Linked DNA regions of Homo sapiens: regions 2, 3 and 4 are each linked to region 1. The links are contacts of gene promoters, found by promoter capture Hi-C in human tissues and cell types (Jung and others, 2019). All regions are on one chromosome and are shown on one strand. The core of a region is centred on a gene start or on the middle of the fragment in contact, and the rest is flanking DNA. Distances in the headings are between cores, read along the strand shown. Region 1 holds the start of PTTG1IP (PTTG1 interacting protein). Region 2 overlaps ADARB1 (adenosine deaminase RNA specific B1). Region 3 holds the start of KRTAP10-9 (keratin associated protein 10-9). Region 4 overlaps ADARB1 (adenosine deaminase RNA specific B1).

What was found. The method cuts DNA at HindIII sites, captures the fragments that hold promoters and counts their contacts. A contact is called where the count stands out against the background at its distance.
Region 2: a contact is called between a fragment that was not itself captured here and the fragment with the promoter of PTTG1IP in region 1, in 3 of the 25 tissues and cell types used here (H1 embryonic stem cells, bladder and dorsolateral prefrontal cortex).
Region 3: the fragment with the promoter of KRTAP10-9 here is called in contact with the fragment with the promoter of PTTG1IP in region 1 in 2 of the 25 tissues and cell types used here (liver and mesendoderm cells).
Region 4: a fragment that was not itself captured here is called in contact with the fragment with the promoter of PTTG1IP in region 1 in 6 of the 25 tissues and cell types used here (IMR-90 fibroblasts, aorta, bladder and 3 more).

The regions. Positions count from the first base shown.
Region 1 is chr21:44,871,446-44,875,262 of GRCh38, forward strand. PTTG1IP (PTTG1 interacting protein) reads right to left here and starts at 2,245. Exons shown (of 6, transcript NM_004339.4): 1 at 2,057-2,245. The coding sequence starts at 2,171. RefSeq lists enhancers at 1,366-1,866, 1,867-2,367, 2,525-3,202 and a silencer at 1,959-2,608. The HindIII fragment of the contact is 14,261 bases long and covers 1-3,817 here.
Region 2 is chr21:45,116,005-45,120,038 of GRCh38, forward strand. The region is part of intron 1 of ADARB1 (adenosine deaminase RNA specific B1); the gene reads left to right. Among named protein-coding and RNA genes, the nearest start is that of ADARB1, 43 kb to the left of the region's middle. The HindIII fragment of the contact is 3,865 bases long and covers 718-4,034 here.
Region 3 is chr21:44,624,779-44,628,977 of GRCh38, forward strand. It overlaps KRTAP10-9 (keratin associated protein 10-9), which reads left to right and starts at 2,315. Exons shown (of 1, transcript NM_198690.3): 1 at 2,315-3,600. The coding sequence starts at 2,394. The coding sequence ends at 3,272. All of the region lies in intron 1 of TSPEAR (thrombospondin type laminin G domain and EAR repeats), which reads right to left. RefSeq lists an enhancer at 1,240-1,935. The HindIII fragment of the contact is 22,066 bases long and covers 1-4,199 here.
Region 4 is chr21:45,099,520-45,103,285 of GRCh38, forward strand. The region is part of intron 1 of ADARB1 (adenosine deaminase RNA specific B1); the gene reads left to right. Among named protein-coding and RNA genes, the nearest start is that of ADARB1, 27 kb to the left of the region's middle. The HindIII fragment of the contact is 4,715 bases long and covers 1-3,766 here.

The sequences.
Region 1 (3,817 bases), core at 995-3,494:
CCCTATCCAGGTTTAACTTCAAGAATCTTGCTCTAAAGATCTTCAATACACCATGGGTTCTTAATGTCTCTCCTCCATCAAAACACATAAAAAGATGCTTAAAAGTGTTGGATTTGGATTGGTATAATGTATTCTCTAAATTCACACAGTGTCCTTGTAAAGGAGACAAAACGTTTTAAACATCAGTACTGCGGTCACATTCCTGTAACCATGACAAGCAGTAAAAATCTCACACCAAGCAAGTACTCTGTGGGAAGAGGGGAGTTCTCCAGGCTATAAATAGCCCCTCTCTCCAAGGACAAGGGGCACGCAGACACCAAAGGCGCCTGGGCAGTGAATGCCAACATGACACGGCACCATTCTTCCTATTCCAAGGGGTCCCCAGTGAGAGAAACAACAGTCCACCCACCAGGACTTGGTGATTACCATAAGTGGAAGCAAGCAAGTGCAGCCTCCAAGTGCAGACACACCGAATGGCTTTTCAGCTGACACACCGAATGGCAGTTCCGGATTAATTCCCACACTGTCCACTCCACTCGTCCACACCCATCTCTGCACCCTTCAGCAGTGCAGAGCAGGAGGAATCACAGTCAAACAAAACCTCATGGTTGTTTTCCTGACACTCCCGCTTTCACAATGCAAGCAAACACACCCCCGAGCCACTGATACAGTTGCCAGTGAATCACACACTCTGCCTGCAGACGCCCATTCTGTTTGTGGAAACGTATTCACTGCACATTTGCGCTTAGAACTCAATCTGGGCCAAAAGTTCCCAGTACAGTCCCACTGGCCTCCTTGACTAACAAACTTCAAGGCAGCTGCATTGCTAACGTCACAAACCCTAAGCACACTTGGAGGCAGGTAAGAAGAAACACAAATAATCCTGCATCGGAATAAACATTCCATAAGGTCACAAAAAGAAAAGGTGCTCTACTATGCTAAACAGACACTGACAGAGCCTGGGCTAACAAGAGCTGAGAAAAGTATTAGCCCCTCAAGCTGGGCCCAGGTCAACCCTAATTGTAAGGGTCAGGAAACTGAAGTTAAGGTGGCACTATTCCCCACCACTAGTGGTCACCTGGAAACTCCACACACGGAAGCCAGCATGACATTGTGAAACAGGTCCAACCATGACACTCTCCAGCTTAGAACCTGCTGGATTTTCCCGCAGCCCACCAGGCCCTGGAGGCCCAGCCCCACAGGAAGCCACCCTCTATAAACACTGCCGGTTTCTGGAACTCTGAGTCTCCTGTCATGCACTTTCCTCCCCCAGCCCCCGCGCCCTCACTGCTTCTTTCTTGGTCAGCCTCCCGGGGACTCAGCTCCTCTTGGATAGGAGCTCTGGCTGTCGGTCACCACTGTGGCCGCAGGGCCTGGTGCAGACGGGATAAACGATGAAGAATGCCACCTGCGCGTCTGGACAGCGTAGAACCGCAATCAGCTTGCTTCAAAATCAGATGCTACAGCCTGGCTTTGGGGACGCCTTCCTTTCTAAGGCATAAGTGCGAGCGTTCGCTGCTGTGCGTGGAACTGCGGCCGGGAGGGAGTGGCGGCGTGAACGCCGGCGGCTGTAGAGACACACCGGCCGCGGCCCCATCACCCTGCAGGGGCCTGCGGCCGCCATCCCGGCCTGCCCCCGACCAGCTGTGCGACCTCGAACACGTCGTGAGCCGGCTTCCCGGCTCGGGATCGAACCCGAGGAGTGCTGTTTGGGGTCGCAGTGAGGCTAAGGGAGGCCGCAGGTGCCAAGCGTCCCGCCTGCCGGGCGAGGGCCAACCCGAGGCCACGCGCGAGGAGCGGCCGCAGCGACTGGACAAAACAAAGACAAAGACAAAGACGGCTCTTCCCCTGCCCGCGCCCCAGCCGCGACGGCAGCTCCCGCGGCCGCCAAACGGGCGTGACCCTCGAGGAGCCTCCGTCGGGGCGCTGCCTGCGACCGTGGGCCCAGGCCGCCCGCCGAGCCCAGCGCCCTGGCCGAAACCCCGACCCCGACCCCGACCTGGACCCACCAGCCGCCCCGCCCCCTTCGCGGCCCCGCCCGCCCCGGCGCCCTCACCAGCTCCGGGAGGCTCCTGCGCGGCGGCCACCGGGATGAGCAGCAGGAGCAGCGCGGCGCCACCGAGGCGCAACCTCCAGTACGGCGTCGGCCCGCGGGCCACTCCGGGCGCCATGGTCGGCCGGTCGCTCTATCAGTCAGTGGAGCGTTACAACTCCGACTCCAGCACAAGCGGTCTCCGCCCGGAACAGCCGCGGCGCCGGAAGTGGACCTGCGAGGTGGGGCCATGCGAGTGCGCAGCCTCAAAAAGCAGCTCGCCCCGCTCCCTCGCCATCTGCCCCGCCCCTCGCCAACGGGCTCGCCTCCCGGCGCGGCTGAGGTTCAGTGCGCCTGCGCGATAGAGGAAAGGAGCCTGGTAGCGAGGAGAGCGGCTGAGGCTCAGTGCGCCTGCGCGGCGCGGATGGGCGAGGCGTGACCGAGGGGCGAGGCGTGACCGAGGGGCGAGGCGTGACCGAGGGGCGAGGCGTGACCGAGGGGCGAGGCGTGACCGAGGGGCGAGGCGTGACCGAGGGGCTCGCCGCGGCTCCTGCGCCTGCGCGGCGGGGAACGGCGACCGGCTGAGGGGACTAGGGGAGCGCGGTGCTTCGGTGGCGGAGGTCACGGTGGCCTCCATCCTAAAGGGCTGCGGGCGTCCCGGACGGCGGTCCCAAGCGCTGCTCACGCTGCTCTTAAGTGAGCCCTGGACGAGGCGCGGTGGGCCCTCATAGTCCGCGCCGGCGCCCTCGCTCCACACCGCGGCGTCCGGCCCTGGGCTCCCGCCGATGTCCGCGTGGGACTTTTAGGGGATTTGTTTATTTTTGTACGTTAACCACACTAGAAACGGCCCCAGAATGGGCTGAAACGTGTGCTGCTGAAGCTGCCACCTAAACTCCCGAGAGAAGCGCCGTTTCTCCTCCATGGCTTCTCGCCGACGCCCTCGCTGCGGCCTTCCGGGCCCCTCGGTTGATAAAAGGACTAAATAGTGACGGACATTTTTAAGGCTACTTAAGAAATGGCAAAAATACATTTAGAGGTGTGAACCCGAACACACTGCGCGCTTTAAGCCCCGCGAGAGCCGGGGCCGCCCGCTTCTGTGCGCCCGTAGCTCCTTTCTCGGGTCCGGGATTCGCCGGTGCCGGGGACAGAAACCTCCTGCCTTCTTAGTTCATGACCCTTGTAGATGAACTTCCCTGTTTTCTGCACTGCTTAGACCAGAAGACGGGAAACCGTGACTGCCGCACCCTTCCCTGAAGCAGGCACTGCCCGTCGTCCATCAAACGCGAGGACTGCGCCCACCTCGTAGGAAGGACGCCGCGGTCCTGCTAAAAGCCTCCGCCTCTGCCTGCCCGAGGGCACCCTTCCCCTCCCCGCTTCCGAGGGCGGACTCCATTCCTCTGGAGCCGGTGTTTCCGGGTGGGCCAGCCTCCAACTGCCTTTGAATAACCCCCCCTTACATTAGATTCTGACCCTGTGGTGATTTTAGGTTGGGATTTGGGCGCCTGCAGATGGCTCCGAAGCCAGCCTCTTGTGATCCGAGCCACTTCTCTGGCACTCGGAGCGCTGGCACCCGCGGAGCGGCCTTGGTTCACCGGACCGCCTGGGAACCTGGCCGGGGTCTCTGGCAGCCTCCCAGGGCTGAGGTTCAGACTCTGTTCCGCCTACCCAGGTCCACACCTGATAGGGCTGGAGTTGAGGCTTGGTTTTAAGGCAAGAGTTTCGTTTGTTATTTCTCCAAAGAGTCAGCTGTTTGCAGGTGTGTGGTTAACACTATCCTTCGAGGTT
Region 2 (4,034 bases), core at 1,400-3,899, 240 kb after region 1:
TAAGGAACTGTATGTTGCATTCTTGCTGAGTGCAGACTAAGTCCTTTGTGCAAGGTTGGGTCATCCTGGGGTGAAAAGGTAAGTGCTTTCGGGGATGCTGATTAAGGTGGTATCTGCTGTGCCTCTCTCAGTGTCCCCAGGGCGAAATTCCTCAGGTTACAGTGGCAGGAACAGCTGCTTGAGCTCATTTTTGTCTTCTGAACAGGATCAGTCTTGGAATTGGCCTTTTCTCCATCTTCAGCCCCAGGGTGGGGCTGGCCTGGGTAGGGCCTGCGCCTGTGCTTGCTGCGCAGCAGCACCCCTGCGTGCCTTCCCTTGCCTCGGCTGCTAAGTCTTTGGAGAAAACTCTACATTGCCAAGCTTCTTCTGAAAGATTTAATTTTTTATTTAGAAACAGTATGCTTATTACAGACTGTGCAGACTTTGCAGAAATGCAAAACTAGGAAGAGACATATTAGTCCCTTTGCATAGAAGCAACTTTTGTTATTATTTTGTATGTTTCCTTTGTATCTGTATTAGTGTGTTCTCATACTGCTAATAAAGACATACCAAAGACTGGGTGATTTATGAAGGAAAAAGGTTTAACAGACTCACAGTTCAGCATGACTGAGAAGGCCTCAGGAAACTTACAATCATGGTGGAAGGGGAAGCAAACACATCATTCTTCACATGGCAACAGCAAGGAGAAGTGTCCAGCAAAATGGGGAAAAGCCCCTTACAAAGCCGTCAGATCCCGTGAGAACTCACTCACTATCACGAAAACAGCATGAGGGTAACTGCCCCCATGATACAATTACCTCCCACTGGGTCCCTCCCACAGCACGTGGGGATTATGGGAACTACAATTGAAGATGAGATTTGAGTGGGGACATGGCCAAACAATATCTGTGTCTTTTTTCATGTATATGTTTTTTTTTTCTTTTCTCAGCATAATTGATATACTGTGGTTACTCTACCTATTTGTGTAGGCCTCTCAGGTCATTGAAACAAGATGTTGTACAAATTAGCAGATGACACTGGCGCATGGAGGAATGGTTTGTATTTTAATTTTCACTGTATAACATTTTAGTAAAGCTTTTACTGGAAATGTTTTCTACCCATATCCTCAGGAAACCATGTGAAGTAGACAGCCTTGCATTTCCTGGATTGCTCCCTCGAAGGATGAAGGGAGCAGTTCTATCAGATGCTCTTCCCAGCCTCCTTCTCCAGGGAGACCTAGCCGCTGCTGTTTTGAGTTTCCTGGGAGGACATCCCCCAAGGACTCTCTGGCTTGTCCTTGTGAAGTTGGTTTGCTTTTTGTGCCAGCTTTTTAGGCTTACAAAATGTTGTGTGTGTGTACATAGGAAAAATATGGAAGGGTACGTACCCACTAGTTTGTGTCAGCACTGGATTCTGGCATATATAATAGATGAGGAGTTTCTGTTATGTATATGGGATTTCTGAGATACACAGGGGTTTTCTGTGCACATCTCTCTATAACGCAGCTGTCCCGTCACATCCTGCATGTCAGTACAGGTAGTGCCGTTCTCTTCGTAGGACTGTGACACTTTATCTTTGTTCTTTCACAGTTAAAAAAAAAAAAGCTTCTTTAAAATTCTGACTTTATATAACTAACGCAATGCTCATGCTACTTCACTTGTTACAAGAACATATTATTCTGTCCTATAGATGTACTGCAGTTATTTAATGGATCAGCTATTGATAAGGGGGCCCTTTTAATGTAACTATTTTAAAAAATGGAAGTAATACCAGCACATGGTAAAAAACACATTGCAGCTCATGAATGGGTATAAATTAAGTTGGAGATTTCCTCTTTCTCCCTCCCCACCCCATGCCCCGTTTCCAGAGGTAAACAATGTACAGTTTGTGTTTTCTTCTCTTAAGTTCTTCTTGTAGTCACCATTATAGCTTTAACTTTTCTGTTTGTGAGTTCATGTGGAAGTCAACAGTGCCTTCACACTCTGAGTTTTGATGAGATTTATATTGACAAGGCTTAAAACATTTGTAGTGTTTCCCATCTATCATTAGGCTCCCTGTGCTTTTCCTGCAAGTGTAGTCTAAACATTTTAATATAAGAAAAGTAACATTTATAGTATTATGATAGTATATTTTGCCATAGAACCAAGTGGTATGAAATGTAATTCTGCCTCACCAAACCTTTGCCAATAAAAGGAGAATATTCAGATGGAACTCCCAGTTTCTCTTTAGGTGTCCGCTGTTTCTAGCTGCCTCAGTTGCCATGGTTTCTCCTATCCCATGGTGTTGGTTTCTTGGATTCTATTTTTGTTTTGCTGGAGCACCTCCTTAATCCACTTCCTTATAGAATGGATGGCTGACAGACTTCTTAATTCACTTCCTTATAGAATGGATGGCTGACAGACTTCTTAATTCACTTCCTTATAGAATGGATGGCTGACAGACTTCTTGGGTTTTTGCACGTAATGTTCAAACATGCAATTACTTTGTTCTCATACTTATTGATAATTTGGTAGGGTCTAGAATTCTAGGATCGTATAATTTTCCTTTTGAAATCAGAAAATATTCTCTATTATTTTCCAGAGTCTAGTGTTGGTAATGAGAAGTTGGATATCCGTTTGATCCTTGTTCTACTGCAGGTAAACATCTTCTACTCTCTCCTTCTCTCCCTCCCTGGGCTTCATGTCCTGACGGTTTGATTTTTCGTTACCCTAAACCCGGATCTGCTTCTCTTCCAGCCCGCGTGCCCATATTGGGATCACCCCTTAGAAAACCTCAGGCTTTCTTTGGAGAGCGATTCTCAGGTTTCAGCCCAGGAATAAAAGCGTTCCCTATGGCTCCTGCTTCTTGGGAAGACCCCTCACCTCTGTTGTCTTGCTCTGCAGTTTCCTCTGCTCTCTCGCATCAACCTGCTTTCGTCTGCCTTATGCCCTAAAAGCCCTGGCAGGCTTTCTTGTGTTCTGCTAAATCCCTCTGTAAATTTTTAGCACCGTGCACTATTATGGTTCATTCACCACCAAAAAGTACCTTTTCTGACATTTTAACAGAGCTCTGGGAAGAATGGAGAGAAGATATGGTGTACTTTATCACCATTTTTAATTAAAAGCCCTTTTAATTAATTAATTTAGAGGCAGGGTCTCGCTCTGTCACCCAGGGTGAAGTGCAGTAGTGTGATCGTGGCTCACTGCAGCCTCCACCTTCTGGGCTCAAGCAATACTCCTGTTATCAGCCTCTTGAGTAGCTTGGACCACAGTCACGTGCCACATTGACTGATTAATTTTTAAATTTTTTGTAGAGGTGGGGTCTTGCCGTGTTGCCCAGACTGGTCTCGAACTCCTAGGCTCAAGCCATCCTCCCACCTTGGCCTCCCAAAGTGCTGAGCACACCACTGTGCCTAGCCTAAAAGCCTTTTTAGATCACTCTCAGTGGCAAAATTAGTGCCTTGGTCACCTTTACCAGTAGCTGTTCTTGCTCTCCAGTGGAAATATCACTCAACATTATCAAAGAATCGGGATGAAATTAAATGAACCAGTTTAGGTACTTTTGATACAGAAGTTCTTATGAGACGTGTTGTTCTTTACTATGTAAGAGTGTGGCCATAAACTTAAAAATAGCTGGGTAACTTTGTTACACTTGCCTTGATGGTGTGTTGCAAGTTAGTTAAATTTCATATACTCTTAATCAGCACATCACCAACAAATAAAATGTTACTGCTGCATCAGAATTTAGAGGAGGTTCTATACATCTGTTTCGAAATAAAGACGGAGATGACTTAGGGTACTTATAAGTTGTTGAAAAATCATGGCTCCTGAAACTATGAATTGTCATCGTGGTATATACCCAGACAGCCCACATTAAACTGCTGTGAACATGAGAAAATGGACATCGAAATGATAAAAGCAAGAGTGTTGGTAATTGAAATCCATTATAAATAAAGCTGTCATTGGTAACGCACGAAATGCTGTTTCTGAGGATGAGGACTTTGTGGCCCCCACGTGGGCGCATTACCAAGCTTTGCAGCTCTGCACAGGAGCCTCCCTTCTTGATACTGAACTAGA
Region 3 (4,199 bases), core at 1,065-3,564, 250 kb before region 1:
TCAGCCTCATGGCTGTAGTCTGTGAATCAGTAAATGCCTCAATAAGAAAATCCAGAAGAAATATTAGACTCACTTCTGTGCACTTTCCCTCTAATAGGGATTCACTCACTCAAGTCTCAGCTGTCTTGGTGACTCCTGGTGCCCTCAAATAGAGATTTTGTTTGTTAAACCAGGTTTCCTAACTTTTCTCAGCTAGATGGCCAGTCTGATGTCAGCCAATTCCCCACACACAAAAGCAGAACTTGACAGAGAGTTTTATACAGCATAAGAAAAAGGTAGCATAATGGAATCGTTTTCAGAGGTCAAAATTACTCTTCGATAATTTCTCCAAAAACATTTATTATTTCAGCCCATTTTTATGAAGGATCTTCCCTATTCCAGGCATTATTTTAGGCCCTCAGAGACTGAGTGGTGAACAAGACAACCACACTTCCTGCCCACATGAAGCTTACCTTTGAAGAATGGGAGCTGAGCACAGCAAAGAAAATGAGCATGAAAAGTTAGGAGACTTGGCACAGAAATACTGATGATGGGCCACGCACGGTGGCTTACGCCTGTAGTCCCAGCAATTTGGGAGGCCAAGGCAGGAGGATCACTTGAGCCCAGGAGTTCAAGACCAGCTGGGCAACATAGCAAGACTCTGGTCTCTACAAAAAAAATTTTTTTTTACAAAAAGAAATATTGATAATGGGACTTGAATTATCTATGATTGAAGCGTATCATAAAGCTATGGCCTGAAAGAGCAGAACCAAATCCATAGCCCAAAATGGACCAGTTCAAAACTTTTCTATCCTGTCTGAAACCCAGTCCTATCCCCAGCGTTCCCACATGCAAGTCTGAGTGGACCTCGGGGAAGGCCGCGGGGAGCGGCATGGCCTCTCTTTCCTTGCTCCCCTTCTCCCTGTTTTGGGCTCTAATTTCTTCAGTGATGGGGACGGGGGAAGGAATGTGCAGGGCCACCACTGTGGGGCTCACTGGCCACTGCTGCACCTTCTCTCCGGCTGCTCCAGTGATCCTGTGCTTCTACCAGCTGCTTCTGCCTCTTCAGTGAGGACCCACTTTAGAGACACCCCCAGGGACAGTAGCTGGAGGACTCTCTCCCTGGGACACCACACTTTGCGTAAGACTGAAGGGCCACCCCTGCCTCCACAGCCTCCTTCTTACAACCTGGGCAGCACTGGTGGGGTGTGGCAGCTGGCCATAGCTGGTCAACTTCTGTCTTATTTTAGAAACCCTGTGGGGACAGGTCTGACCCAGAATGTTAGCATTATTTTTAGAATGAGAGGCCGTTTCCAGCTTTGCCAGATTCACAGCAACAAAGACGTTCTACTCAACATCGTGTAATACGTCTTACTTTATAATGAAATATGCGTATGTGTACTTGAATTTTTAAATAAAAATGTGAAATCACAATCAATATTATAATTAGCTGCTGGGTAGCAATGTTCCTGGAAAGTGATCAGGGCCATTTTATAAGGCAAGAAGCTCGGGACTTCATCATGCCCTGTGGTGATAACAATTCATCATCAAAGATCATGCAGCCGTGAGAGTTGCCTGTGGCTGACCTGGGGGTGTGTGATGGGGCCTGTGGGCAGGGCTGGTGAGAAAAAGATGCTTGCAGTGCAGGGCACACGGAGGAGATGGCTCCAGCAGTGGCGAGGGCTGGCGGCTGCCTGCTGCCTAGCACAGCTACTTCACGGGTTCAGAACCCGAAACCACAGCCCACGATGCTGCCATTGTGCCTCAGCAAGGAGTGGGCTGAGCCCACGATCCCTGCCCTGGAACAGAGTCCTGCTGCCTCCCAAGCAAAGGACAGGGTGGGCAATGAACAGAGGGCAGGAGGCACAGAGGCCATGGGGATTAGAAATTGGCGAGTCCTGTGTCCTACAGCAGGGGAAGGACCATACTAGAGGAGGAGTTTGCACCACAGGAAATAATTCCTAAGGGCCGGCTTCCTGCAGAGGAAGCCCGTGTCCTGAGGCTGCTGGGGCCAGTGGCTGGACGATGCCCCAGCAACCAAAGATGGCCCCAGGCACATCCCACCCACATCCCACCCACCAGACGCCCACAGCCGTCCTTGCCTCCAGAACCCAGCTGGGATCAGGCCCACCCCAACTCCTGCCCCTGAGGTTCCACATGCAACAGACTATAGCCCAGGTGTGACAGGAGATTTGTGAGCTGGGCAATGTCACCAGCAAACAAACATCCCTAATCATGGCAGACGCCGCCTCTCAGCAACAAGGAAGGGGAAGCTGTGGGCCCTGGAACAACAAGGCCAGGAGGGGTATAAAAGCCTGAGAGCCCCAAGAACCTCACACACTCACAAACTCACTCACTGACACACTCACACACTCACTTACACCTCCCCCAGCTCACCTCCTCCCCACCCCAGCATGGCCGCGTCCACCATGTCCATCCGCTCCAGCGCTTACTCCGACTCCTGGCAGGTGGACGACTGCCCAGAGAGCTGCTGTGAGCCCCCCTGCTGCGCCACCAGCTGCTGCGCCCCGGCCCCCTGCCTGACCCTGGTCTGCACCCCAGTGAGCCGTGTATCCAGCCCCTGCTGCCAGGTGACCTGTGAGCCCAGCCCCTGCCAATCAGGCTGCACCAGCTCCTGCACGCCCTCGTGCTGCCAGCAGTCTAGCTGCCAGCCGGCTTACTGCACCTCCTCCCCCTGCCAGCAGGCCTGCTGCGTGCCCGTCTGCTGCAAGCCTGTGTGCTGCGTGCCCGTCTGCTGTGGGGCTTCTTCGTGCTGCCAACAGTCTAGCTACCAGCCAGCTTGCTGTGCCTCTTCCTCCTGCCAGCCGGCCTGCTGTGTGCCCGTCTGCTGCAAACCTGTGTGCTGTGCGCCCACCTGCTCTGAGGATTCCTATTCATGCTGCCAACAGTCTAGCTGCCAGCCAGCTTGCTGCACTTCCTCCCCCTGCCAGCAGTCCTACTGTGTGCCTGTCTGCTGTAAGCCTGTCTGCTGCAAACCCATCTGCTGTGTGCCTGTCTGCTCTGGGGCTTCCTCTTTGTGCTGCCAGCAGTCTGGCTGCCAGCCGGCTTGCTGCACCACCTCCTGCTGCAGACCCTCCTCCTCTGTGTCCCTCCTCTGCCGCCCTGTGTGCAGGCCCGCCTGCTGCGTGCCCGTCTCCTCCTGCTGTGCCCCCACCTCCTCCCGCCAGCCCAGCTATTGCCGCCAGGCCTCCTGTGTGTCCCTTCTCTGCCGCCCTGTGTGCTCCCGCCCGGCCTGCTACAGCTTCTCCTCAGGCCAGAAGTCCAGCTGCTGACGGTCATGTCCCCCAGGGCCAGCCGGGCTCAGGCCCCACCTCCCTGCCAGTCCTTGGACCTCCCAGCCCACCCAGCCTCAGCACAGCTCAACACAGAAGGAGCAGCCCCAGCCACAGCCGCCCAGCCCCGGGGTCTCAGATGCTCACTGGCTCCTCCCTGACCTCCCCCCCGGGCAGGCGAGCCCTGGCTTCTCCTCACGGTGCTTCCTGGCTGCAGACCACAACCCTCCGCTGGTCGCTGGTTGGGGACGGGCCCTCCTGACCCGGGTCTCACCCCCAGCAGCGTCACCCTCTGCCCCTGAGCACCAATAAAGCGTCTGCGGCCCCAGCTGACTCCGTGCTGACTCTCCGCACCCAGGGCGGGAGGGGGCAGAGTGGGGCCTGGCCTGGCTCTGGGGGGCTGGGCCCCGTGGATCTCTTTACTTCCCCAGCTGGGGGGCCTCGGGGGGCTCTTGTGTGACACCTGGAAGCTCCTGTCCACCTCGTGGCACGTTCTGCTGTCCGGCTCCCCTCCCAGGTCCTGTGGGGCCCAAAAGCCTTGTTCACTGGCTGAGTCCCACAGACACCACGTGACTCAGGCTAATGCCCCACTCACTGTGGGTAGAAGCAGCTCCTTCCCATGGCAAGGGTTGGGGCTGTCCCGGGGGGTGGCAGGCCCCAGCTGTGCTGGGAGGTGGGAGACGGGCGGTGGGGGGTGGGTGTGGAGACTTGGGCTCCAGCTGTCCCAGCACTCAGGAGTTCCACTCGGAGAGAGCTTGGCCATCCTGGCCTCCTGTGGACACTCACAGACGCTCAGGGATGGCCCCTGCTCCAGCCCTGGGCTTGCCGCTGGGATGCAGAGCAGAGAACAGACACGTGGTCTCCAGAGCTCCCTGTGCTGGGCTGGGTGGGTGGAGGGCCGGTGGGAACAGGAAGGTCTCAGGGCGG
Region 4 (3,766 bases), core at 248-2,747, 230 kb after region 1:
TAGCTGGGTGTGGTGGCGCACACCTGTGATCCCAGCGAGCAGGAGGCTGATACATGAGAATCACTTGAACCTTGGGAGGGGACCACTCCAGCCTGGGTGACAGAGCGAGACTCTGTCTCAAAAAAATAAAAAATAAAAATTTACAATTTATGTTAAAATATGTCATTTTAAGTTATGTAAATCCAAGCATAATTACTGAACACAAGGCTCAATCCAAAACATGCACAGTAAGCCCGTGTGAAGTGTTCACATGCTGTTCTGAGGCTGGCTGGATCTGGAGTTTCTGGGAGTGCTCTCTTGGGCTGGCACGTCTTGGGCTGTGGGGGCCCTGAAGCCCTCCTAGATGCTGGACATTGGTGTGTGTGCAACTTGGTGGTGGTGTTGGGGTTACTTTCCAGAAGCTACTCAAGGCTTAGTCTCAGTTTCTATCTAAAGATATTTATATGGGAAGTATTCCAAATGTGGATTTATAAAGATAACACATGGATAGAAATAGTGTAAAACTTGTGTGAACTGAACCAGCCAAGCTTCTAGTCTTCCCTTTCCAAAACTTTCCTTTTTCTCCCCCCGTGTTAAAGATTTAAAAATATATGTTTAAAAAGGTCACTTTTAACTTGTAAAAATTATTCAACATATACAGAAATTTAAAAAGCAGCATTGCAGGTTATGTGAGATTATGTATGTCTGCTCTTTGGAACTAGGTTGAAATGATAGCTACAAGGTTCTTTGGAAGAATGGGGATGTGTGGGTGAGAGTGGAGTAGACAGGCTGGGCTTACTAACTAGGCTTGCACTGGCCCCCGTCAGTCACTGTTCCCAAGTCAAATACTGCATTGCACTGAACACCAGAGCAGCAGTGCATTTCCTAGAGAACTCTGCAAGGCTACAGGTGGCAGACTTAGGGAGCGCTTGCCATCCCTGCCCTTCCCAGCTCTACCCAGAACAAGGAGGCCTCGCACACTACCTGGTCATATTTTGACTTCATGCATTTAATGAACCAAACTAAAGGTAAATATTTTCTTTTGATTCCCAAGGCAGACTTGTGGGTACCCAAGTTCCTCAGCCCATCTTTAACTCAGTAGGATGTGGCATCTCCATTGAGGCTCTTCATGGAATCCCTGGAGGTGAAACCTCGGTGTCCGGTTGCTCCAAACCAGTGCTGGTGGGATTCAGTTTTCTGGACCCATTTCTGGGTGAAGTCAAGGAATGGAGGCGGGCGGCTGTCAAGCGTCTCTGTTGCTCAATGGGGCAGGCCAGTCCCAGCGGCGACTTAGAGGTGGCTGGCTGGGCGTCCCTACAGGAGAATGGGCCACAGGGCCAGCGGGGCCAGCAGGATGAGCAGGCCTGGTTTGGGGTATGGGCCGCAGGCGTGGAGCTCGATGCTGGGCAGGGGCCTGCTCACTGACGAGTTGCCACCCGGGATTGGGGTAGGGGTGGGCGCGGTGGTCTCGGGCTCTGAGCGGCTCTGCACCGGCAGGAGCAGGACTGGCAGCAGCAGCAGCAGCGCCAGTGCGGATCGGGCCGCCATGGCCAAGCGCTCCGGCTCGTCCCGTAGCAGTGCCGCGGCGGCGGCCGCTGCCGGGAGTGTCTGTTCCGCGGTTACGCGGGGTCCTCTCCGGTCCTGTCCAGTGAGGTCCTGACAGCTGTACCCTGGCCCAACCCCTGCCCACGGCTGTTAACGATCAGCCTCGGGGAGCAGGTGTGCCGCCACGCGCGCCGTAGCGCTCCGGAGCTGGCTCTGCGCTCACGTGCTCGCTGTGCCCTGCGCGCGGGCGGGCCGTGTCCCCGCAGCCCCGCGCCTGGCGCTGCCAAGCTGCCCAGCGGGCTTTAGCAGGTGCTGAAATGCCCGCTGCCAGTCGCCGAGTGCTGGGTGCAGAGGATCTCTCCAGACACCTAGGCTCCCTTCTTTCGCGGCACGTGGGAAAAACTCCTGAAGTGCGTGCACAGAGTTTTTGTTTTAGAGGCTTTGACGTTATGATTAAGTATACCTGTGATGTAACGAAAACCTTTTTTAATGCTTCTCAAAAGATTTGCTAGCGTTTAACATTTACCTCCTGTACTGGAGTTTAAAGGAAGCGTTGCTTCTTAAGTAATCAGTGATCCTTTTGCTTTTGGAAATTGTAATGAACTTCACCATCGTAGAGCTTTAATATTTCTTTCCTGAAGCAGAAAGCATGTGAAATTTTCTGGATAGTGTATACTTAATACACAAGCTTTTGGAGTTTTTGAATGCTGGGTATGTTAGCACACCAGTCTTGCTGACTATTACGTGGGAGATGAGTGCTGCTTAAAATTGTGTAAGGGGTCAGTAGTTACAGTGGTGGACATACTTTTGCCAGACATGGTTTATTTTAAAGTGAACATATTTTGTGCTTATTTATTTATTTGGGACAGGGTCTCACTCTGTTACTCAGGCTGGAGTGCAGTGGTAATCATGGTTCACTGCAGCCTCAACTTCCAGGCTCAAGTGATCCTCCCACCTCAGCCTCCTGAGTAGCTGGGACTGTGGGGCTACAGGCGCACTACCACACCCAGCTAACTTTTTTTATTTTTTGTAGAGACGGAGTCTTGCTGTGTTGCCCAGGCTAGACTTGAACTCCTGGCGTCAAGCGATCCTCCCTCTTCGGCCTCCCAAGTTGCTGGGATTACAGATGTGAGCCACCATGCCTGGCCAATGTGCTTATTTTAATTCTAAATCAGAATTTCTATAATTATCTTCCTTACCTTGGTGTCTGTCTGTTATCAGCACAAGGGTTTAAAATAATTTTTGATTTCTTGGAAGTAATTACGCAGGCAGTTCAATGGGAGAAGGCACTTTCCTCAGCACATTTGGGGTGCTGTTGTCAGAAAGAAGGGGATGGATTCAAGTCAGCAAAACCAGCTGTAACCACAACTATATTTTTTAAACATGTAGCTGCATGTTCCATAAAACAGCATATAAAAAATAGAGTGAGCATTCTTTATTGGAGAAATAGCTGATTCTAGGACTGGGCAGGAAATAACACAAGTGCCAGGAATGCCAAGGAAATGGCAAGGAAATGCCGAGAAACAAACATAACCACACCCACATCAATGGGTGGTGTCAAAGGGACCCAGGAGCCAACTGAAAGAGCTCCCAGTGGCCAAAGCTGGAACAGTTTCTACAACAAAACAAAGTAGTATTGGATTATAGCCCAGAGATAAATAAATATCCATGAGTCCAGACTGACATAAATAAATGACTGATAAATGAGGAGAAAAGACAAAGCTCCTTTTCCAGCACAATTCCAGATCATCTCTGCATCTGCTGTATCTGCTGTGTCTTCCAGGAGGTGGAGCACAACCCTTACCCCAAGGCAAGGGCTGTGCAGAGCAACTTCCTTCCAGAGAGGACAGCATGGAAGTGGGGCGGGGGGCTCAACCCAGCAGGGGCCAGGTCAGCCTCACAGTGGTCAGTCACGGTGACAGGGTGTGCCTGATACAGTGGAGTGACAGTGGGCCTTCACCTCTGGGGGCTTCATCCCCAAACTCAGTCCCTTCCTGTACCATGAGAAAAACATCAGACAGATCCCAGCTGAGGGACAGCTTCCTCAACAGTCAAAAACCAAGAAGAGTCTGAGAAACTCACAGCCAAGAGGGGCCTAGGGAGCCATGACATCTCAATGTCACGTGGGATCCTGGACGACTGAATCTGACGAAAGTGTGGATTTCAGTTAATAACAATGTGTTAATTAATACTGGTCCGTTAAACCAGCAGTCCTCAACCTTTTTGGCACCAGGGACTGGTG